Linked DNA regions of Homo sapiens: all the other regions are linked to region 1. Evidence: promoter capture Hi-C in 16 types of primary human blood cells and fetal thymus (Javierre and others, 2016). All regions are on one chromosome and are shown on one strand. Each heading gives the region's core, a stretch centred on a gene start or on the middle of the fragment in contact. The rest is flanking DNA. Distances are from core to core; before and after follow the strand shown.

Region 1 (2,700 bases), core at 190-2,689:
CACTGACGCCGACGGAGCCGGGCTGCTGCGGGAGTGGAGCCCTGGGGGACCAGAAGGGGCTTTCACTTCGCTCCTGGGCCTCCCGAGTTCCAGGCTCGGGCTAGCCCCGCGCAGGGAGGCGAGCGGGCCCGGCTCCCCAGAGGCCGAGGCCGGCGCCCGTGCTCCTTCAGCTCGGCCTCTCTCCCCCGACATAGGCGCTCCACATGCTTCATTTCCAAAATTCTCAGCAAAACTCCGCGGGAGACCCTGGTCACATGCCTGGAACGAGAACAAACCGGGGCGTGTCTGTGCCGGACGGCTGGGAACCAAAGCTATTTCCATAGAAATAGGGCCGGCCAGCCTTGAGTTGTAGCCCCGCCAGTGCCTGAAACGCCAGGAGGAGGGGACGAGTTGCCTTTTAAAGGCGTAGCGACGAGAATAAGCCCCCACCCGCGGCAATTCGAGGCTGAACAATAGTGGTGCAGCTCGGGACGTGGTGCGAGGGCCCACACTCCACTGGAGCACGCGCGGACCACCGTGCCTCAGCTGCCACAAAGGGAGCCTCGCCACACGCCCGCGGCCGCCTCGCAGCGCCCGCCAAGAAGCGCCTGGCGGAAGGGCGCACTCTCAGGCCTTCCACCGGCGACCTTCCGGCGGGAGCCTGCGGGCGGCGCAGGAACGACCCTCCTTCCTCTGCCCCGCAGCAGTGCTGAGTAATGGTGAGAGCAGCAAGGCCCTTGGCCGCCGCACGTAAGAAAAAAGTTGTAATAAAAAGAAAACAACCCGGGAAACTTTACTAGTTGGTTCGCCAGGTACAAACCTATGCGGAAAAGGCGGGGTACAGGCCTCGGAGGCCGGACCCAACCAGTCAGGGAAAGAAAGAGGGCAGAAGCCGCAGGCTGCACAGCCTCACAACCGCCCAGAGGGCACGGCGGCCCTGGGGCTCGGTCTCTTCCGAGCAGAGCAACCTCCGTGTCTATCAGCTCCTTCCGGCGTTGCGATTGGCCACAGGCTGTCTTGGCCTCTCGGACGCCCGCCTCCTAGTTGCTAGGGGTTTACTTCCCCAAAGTACACGGGCCCCACCTTGTGGCGCAACCGCTCCTGCATGGAAAACGGATCTCCGCCCAGGGGAAGACGTGTTAACGAATAAGAGCAGCCCCACACATTTATTGGCTACTTTGAGTATCAGTCAAAGAACTGCTCACTCGCCTTTCTATTGTACTTTTCGGTTATTGGTCTCTCTTAGTGCCGATCTGTTACTAGGGAAACGAGATCCTCACAGTCTCATAGGCAGGAGTCAAAGCCAATCAAGAGCCACGCCTTCATCCCCGAGTCAGTGCCCAATTACTGTTCGAAGAGCCCTGAGGACGCGGTCGGGATTGGTCATCCCGTCGCCCGACCTGGCCGCAACAAGTTAGGGTGAGTGGCAGTTATATAGACCGGCGGCGGAGCACGCGTGTGTGCGGACGCAGTTGCGTGAGGGGTTTGTACTATCCTCGGTGCTGTGGTGCAGAGCTAGTTCCTCTCCAGCTCAGCCGCGTAGGTACGCCGGGGTGTGGGCGGGGCAGGGAGGCCAGAGGACTAAGCCGAGCCGCAGCACTTGTGAGAGGGAGAAGTCTGAGTGGCGCTCGCGGCGGCCGCGCCAGTCGCGTCCCCCACCCCAACCCCCACCCCAACGGCCGCAGGCGCGCGCGGCGGACGGACGGGCGCGCGGCGGCTCCTCGCTCCCGCTCCCGTCCCGGCTGGGGCGCGTGGCCGTGTCCGCCGCGTGCGCGTGCTGCGTCCAACGGCCTCGCGGGGCAGGAGTAAGCCGCGGCCGCCGCCTGGGCCCCAGGGCGGTCTCTGGGGCCAGGGGTCCCGCGCCCAGCGTTTCCCGCCCGCCACCCTCTCCGCCACGCGCCCGCGGCACCTTTTCCTCCCCTGGCCAAGGGATCCAGTCGGTTCGGACCAGAAGGAGGCTTTCGTTTAGGGTGGGGGCAGCACTAAAGTCTGATTGGAGTCTTGCGGTCCGCGCGTCGCAGAAGCGCCTTCGGTTTTGCAGAGAGCAAAGAGGGAGCAGCGAGTGCACGGAGTGGTAGTAACAACCAATGTTCTTTCCACGCCCTCACTGTGTGTCCGGCACTGTGCGGAGCCACTTTTCTGCCTTTCATTTGATTCTTGCAGTGAGCTGGCGAGGTGGGTACGGCTATCCTCCTTCCTTAGCGGCCCAAGGCACGGGTTTGGAGAGCGGGGTCACAGGCACGCACGGGAAGGGCGGGGATTTGTTGACGCCGGGCCCTCTGACTCCGAGCTCCCCGCTTCCCAAGCCTGTTTTTAGTCTTTGCCCCCAGAGCACTTGTCCCTCGGGGCAGCATCAGCCTCAAAAGGCCACCTGCCGAGAAGGCTGCAGCGGCATTTGTACTTGGGCTAGTTCTGGGCTTCCAGGGAGACAAGGGTTGGAAGTGGGAATGTGACAAAGGAAAAGGGTTTGGGCTTCCTTTCTACGTGTACTTGTACAGGCCCTGGGTAGATGTGCCGCCACCGTAGCTTCTGGAAAAAAGTAGGGAAAACGATGAGTAAGTGCAAATGAACATGGACTGTGTTCCTCATCGGGTTTGAATCTCAGATTGCTGATGGGAAATTCCCGCCAGCGGGAAGTTAGGCTCCGGTTTTAGACGTTGAATTTTTTTTTCTCTACTTTTTTTTTAATTGGAGGAGACTTTTGCAGAAAGACCTTGAGAA
Region 2 (2,700 bases), core at 1-2,500, 5.5 Mb after region 1:
GCGCAGCGTCGATGTTTGGGGGCGGAGGGCTTTGATGAGAGAGGAGCAGGTCTGACCCGCTTGGAAGCTTTCTGGCCTACACTAGCATCGCTCACCAAGCTGGCTGCGGGCACGGTGGAAGTGGGGGAAGGGGATGAGTGGGCTGACTCCTGGGGGAAAAGGTGGTTTTTTTCTTGAGCTCTGAAGAACCAGGAAGATGCTTGCCTGTCTGTTGTGGCGTCTACTTTTCAGGTCAGCCCTACCCCTCACCCCAAAGAACAGCCCACCTATGTGCAAAAGAAGAGGAGGAGGTGCTCTCTGCTTGGGGATGGGGGCAGGTAGCATGTTCCACATAAGTATGGCCCTCTATATCCAGAACCCGGCTGGAAAGGACACTGACAGCCCAGGTGCCTCCCCAGCACAGGGAATCTGATTTTGACCTTTGCTTGCCTACTTTCCCCAGCACAGTGGAAACACTCACCAGGGCTGATGAGCCATCAGCTGTCCTTCCAGCTAGGCCAAGAATGGGACAAGGATCTTTTTCTGCTAGTTCCTGGGTGCCTGTGCCCTCAGCATGGGCAGGGAGACGGAGGCAGGCCTGCTGGCAGGAGGGGCAAATCAGGAGACTGTCGGTTCCTGTGTTCCCATTTCCTGCCTCCTGTCTGTGTCCCAGTTAGGGCAGTGGGTCTCACCTTACTCTTGGATACAGGCTGTGCCAGCAACCTGGGTCCCTGAGATCTTAGAGGGCAAAAATCAGGTCCATATCTTTGGGCAGGCCTGTGAAGGCCTTGATGGTTGCTTTCTCCACCATTAGACCCTCTCTCTGTGGCCCTCCTGGTGGCCTCCCACCTCCACTTCCATACAGTGCCCTGCCCTTCCCCCAGTCTCCAGTGTCAGAAATGGTTTTCAAGAAAGGAGCCAATGATTGTGTTTATCTTGAAGAGCTAAATACAAAAGAAGTTCCCATTTGATGCAGAGCAGGTGCTTTACAAGTCATTTGACCGGAAAAGAAACAGAGGATGGAGGCATTTTAATGGGAAACAAAGCTTTAATGGGAAACACTGTAGAAATATTTGCTATCACTAATGGTAGAATTTCAAACAGTGGGCTGGAAGTGGAGGTGGGGAGCTGGGTAGTTCTTTTGGGAACGGGTCCCTGAAATGACAATATCTAGCAGCTGTCAGCTCTGTATTTGGCAAGGGCAGCTTTGGCCCTGCAGGCAGGAATGCTGTAAGAGTGTGTATGCATGCATGTGCATGCGTGCATGTTTGTTTGACTGGTCAGGTGTTACTGTCACCAGAAGGCATTTTTTGAGCACCCAGTGTCCACTTTCGGGATGAGAAACTTGTGTACACAGGGTTCCTCGTTGGCATTGGCTGCCCTTTGCCAAGGCAATTATTAGACCTCAAGAAGATAGTGTTGTTGCTTACAAAGTCAGTGCCTCTAGCTAGTTGTGCGCACTGAGCCTCTGGCTGGGGGCATTAGCTCTCTGCTCACTAAGCTTCTTTATTATATTTCCTGGCCAGTTCTGACCGGTTCTGTAGGCACCCAAGGCTGCCTTGTTCAGTCCCTGCTGGAAAATGAAAAAGGAAAAACTTGCTTTAGGCATTAGGCCAAGAGTCGGATGTACAACCCAGTGGGGTTGGAGAGTTTTACTCAAATCAGATGCTGGCCCAGAGAAGGAAGTAGACATGAATTCAAAAACCGGTAAAAGGCCCTGGTAGAACACTACATGACCCCTCTGATAAATCATGCCCTCTCTGATGTTCAGTGGCCTCTGCTGCTGTCATCAACCAGAAAGCTGAATGAGATGATGAATCGGCTACAAGCTAATTAACGGGAAAAGCGCTCCTGGAAAACAGTACGGGTCCCAGTCCCTACGTTTAAAGATTGGACTACACTCTCAACGCAGCTTCTTTGGACCACTGTTGGCCCCAGGGGTCCACCAAAAGCGTCACAAAATGGCCTTTTGTAGCCTCCATGTGGCCACCGTAACAATGAGTCTATTTCTTTACTGGCAAGTATTAATTATTCACTTGTAATTGACAAAGCCAGACATCAGTCACCTCACTGGAGTCTTTATGAAAGGCTTTTGGTCCTGTCATTCTGAGGAGCAAAGCCATGCCTAGGGTCCAGGGGATGGCCCCTGCATCAGTAGTGAGATGGTGGGAGAAGGGGGGCAGGCTGCTGCCTTCTTGGCAGTGAATGGAGGCAGGGGAGGAACTAGAATATCTTTGGATGCTCTTACTACCCAAGGGGTGCATGAAAGTGCCGAGCAGAATGCTTAGCACATAGTAAGTACTAGCATATTTATGTATTTATTGTTATAATGTATTAATTACATAATCATTAAGAATTTGGCTTATGTATGTAATCAACCCTTGGCTATTACCAGCCCCTCTCCCTCCAGAGCTTTCCTGAATTTTGCTTTTTTGAGGGAAGTTGGTCTCTGTGACCAGTAAACCCAGCCCCAAGTTTACCGGCCGAAGGAAGGGAAAGTTAAGAGTGATAGGGCATGAAGTGAAAGGCTTCAGGTGGGAAGTGCTCTTAAGTAGCACAAGAGAGGTGGGTGGAACCTGAGTAGGTAGGGAGAAGTGGGAGGGAACAAGCCAAGCAGAAGCCCAGGGCCATTCTCACATTTCAACACGTAGAGTTAAGGAAGGGCCTCTTCCTCTGTGAGAATTCAGCATTTTGCAACCATCCAAAAATGTTGAGGGCATG
Region 3 (2,700 bases), core at 166-2,665, 5.6 Mb before region 1:
CCCAGCTACTCGGGAAGTTGAGGCAGGGGAACCGCTTGAACCTGGGAGGAGGAGGTTGCAGTGAGCCGAGATCGCGCCGCTGCACTCCAGCCTGGCGACAGGGCAAGGCTCCGTCTCAAGAAAAAAACAAACAAACAAACAAAAAACAAAAAAAAATAAAACCAGGCGGGATGGCTCATGCCTGTAGTCCCAGCACTTTCGGAGGCTGAGACAGAAGGATCGCTTGACCCCAGGAGTTCGAAACCCTGTCTCTACTAAAAATACAAAAAATTAGCAGGGTGTAATGGAGCACGCTTGCAGTACCAGCTGTGGGGAGGCTGAGGTGTGAGGATCGCTTGAGCCCTAAGGTCCAGGCTGCAGTGAGCCATGATCACGCCACTGCATTCCAGTCTGGGTCACAGAGTGAGAACATCTCCCAAATTTAAAAAAATTTTTAAAAATTGCAACTGTACTACCCCACCGTACACTCCCTAGCACCCCTTCCTGCTCTATTTTTTCCCCACAGCATTTATCAGCACCTGACACAATATTTTACAATGTATTTTACCCACACACATAAACACTATGAAAAGAGAGATTTTTGTCTGTTTTACGGAGAGGCGCTCAATTTTTTCTTTTTTTTTTTTTTTTTTTTTTTTTTTTTTTGCTGTAAGTAGGAATCAACTTACATACTCCTCTCTCCACCTCGGCTTTATTTGTTTGTTTATTTATTTATTTTATTTTTAAGACGGAGTCTCACTCTGTCGCCCAGGCTGGAGTGCAGTGGCGCGATCCTGGCTCACAGCAGCCTCCCTCTCCCGGGTTCAAGCAATTCTCCTGCCTCAGCCTCCCGAGTAGCTGGGTTAACAGGCGCGCACCACTACGCCCGGCTAATTTATGTATTTTTGGTAGAAACGGGGTCTCACCATGTTGGCCAGGGTGGTCTCGAACTCCTGACCTCAAATGATCCACCCGCCTCGGCCTCCCAAAGTGCTGGGATTACAGCCGTGGGCCACCGTGCCCGGCTCTCCACCTCGATTTTAGAAACTCCAGAGAAATAACAAATATGATATCCAAGTACTCCGTAAAGTTAACAGACATCAGTTCGTGGTTCATAAACTAGCAAGAAAAAGCAAAGTCTCTACGAAAGGCACGCCTTAAGCGTGGCTCTCTTTTAGAAAAGGACTTTCCCTTCAGGACAGCACATGGAGAGCCCCTAGAGACTGGCCAGTCCGGCTCCAGGGCCCCTGCGGATTCTTCTCGCTCAAACTCACCGCCATTGCACCGCCCAGCCGACTGTGCAAATCCACGACAATGACCCTGGCGACCTCCACAAAGGAGTGGTTACCTTTCCCCTCCCTCTCGGGGATGCCAGGCCTCCCACGAAACTAAAGCACACGCTTCACACCTGCTGAGGCAATCATCCGGCTCCTTACTAACTACAGCCAAGGCATCTCACAGCCCGCCGGGAATTGTAGTTCCCAGACCACCCGAGCAGACACCCAGCAGGCGCTAACTGACTACAATTCCCAGAGAAAAACGGGTTATCGGAAGTCTACCCGATAGGCCCACTCAGAGGGGAACCGGCAGTGACGTCACTGGCATGTTGAACTACAAAGTCCATGATGCAGTGCGGGATCGCAGAATGCCGCGAGTGCGCCCTGGTTAGGTTGGAGTCCCTTGGCCATCAACCTTTTCACCCGGTAGAGCTGGTTGCCTGTCGGGATGCCAGGATACGCAGTTAATTACTATACGGTGACTGAGGTGCTACTTATGGCTTGCCACTATGCACAGATATTTTTTACTGTCAGTGGCATTCAACAGCCCAGCATTTAGACATTGTATAACCGCGTATTGACAATCTCCTTTTTTTTTTTTGAGACGCAGTATCGCTCTGTCGCCCAGGCTGGAGTGCAGTGGCGCGATCTTGGCTCAGTGCAACCTCGGCCTGCCGGATTCAAGCAATTCTCCTGCCTCAGGCTCCCGAGGAGCTGGGACTATGGGCGCGCGCCACCACACCGACTAATTTTTTGTATTTTTGGTAGAGACTGGGTTTCACCTTGTTAGCCAGGATGATCCCGATTTCCTGACCTCGTGATCTGCCTCCCTCGGCCTCCCAAAGTGCTAGGATTACAGGCGTGAGCTACCGTACCTAGCCAACAATCTCCTTTTTTTTTTTTTTTTTTTTTTTTTTTTTTGAGAGGGAGTTTCGTTCTGTCTCCAGGCTGGAGTGCAGTGGCGCGGTTTCGGCTCACTGCAACCTCCGCCTCCCGGGTTCAAGCGATTCTTCTGCCCCAGCCTCCTTAGTAGCTGGGACTACAGGCGCGCGCCACCGCGCCCAGCTAATTTTTGTATTTTCAGTAGAAACGGGGTTTCACCATATTGGCCAGGATGGTCTCGATCTCCTGAACTCGTGATCCGCCCGCCCCAGCCTCCCAAAGTGATGGGATTACAGGCGTGAGCCACCGTGCCCGGCCAACAATCTCCATTTTTAAGCAAGAGACTGAAAGCCTACCTGGTCCCATTGCCTGACTCAGACTATTTAGACCACTACCAAACAGGGCCAGGGGCGGTGGCCATAATCCCATTATTTTGGGATGCCGAGGTGGGCGGATGACCTGAGGTCAGGAGTTTGAGACCAGCCTGGCCAACATGGTGAAACCCCGTCTCTACTAAAAATACGAAAATTAGCTGGGTATGGTGGCGTGCACCTGTAGTCCC

The links. The method cuts DNA at HindIII sites, captures the fragments that hold promoters and counts their contacts. A CHiCAGO score of 5 or more calls a contact.
Region 2: a fragment that was not itself captured here is called in contact with the fragment with the promoter of G3BP1 in region 1 in 1 of 17 cell types (fetal thymus); the score reaches 6.9 in fetal thymus.
Region 3: the fragment with the promoter of LARS1 here is called in contact with the fragment with the promoter of G3BP1 in region 1 in 1 of 17 cell types (fetal thymus); the score reaches 5.7 in fetal thymus.

Annotation. Positions count from the first base shown.
Region 1 is chr5:151,770,515-151,773,214 of GRCh38, forward strand. G3BP1 (G3BP stress granule assembly factor 1) reads left to right here and starts at 1,440. Exons shown (of 12, transcript NM_005754.3): 1 at 1,440-1,522. LOC100652758 (a long non-coding RNA gene) reads right to left here and starts at 1,662. Exons shown (of 2, transcript NR_132345.1): 1 at 1,189-1,662; 2 at 1-258. RefSeq lists enhancers at 1-248, 627-856, 1,114-1,408 and silencers at 1,617-1,946, 1,997-2,066. The HindIII fragment of the contact is 14,997 bases long and covers 1-2,700 here.
Region 2 is chr5:157,266,716-157,269,415 of GRCh38, forward strand. The region is part of intron 1 of CYFIP2 (cytoplasmic FMR1 interacting protein 2); the gene reads left to right. Among named protein-coding and RNA genes, the nearest start is that of CYFIP2, 1.9 kb to the left of the region's middle. RefSeq lists an enhancer at 515-624. The HindIII fragment of the contact is 455 bases long and covers 1,024-1,478 here.
Region 3 is chr5:146,181,235-146,183,934 of GRCh38, forward strand. LARS1 (leucyl-tRNA synthetase 1) reads right to left here and starts at 1,416. Exons shown (of 32, transcript NM_020117.11): 1 at 1,254-1,416. The coding sequence starts at 1,259. RefSeq lists enhancers at 940-1,099, 2,008-2,700. The HindIII fragment of the contact is 6,101 bases long and covers 1-2,700 here.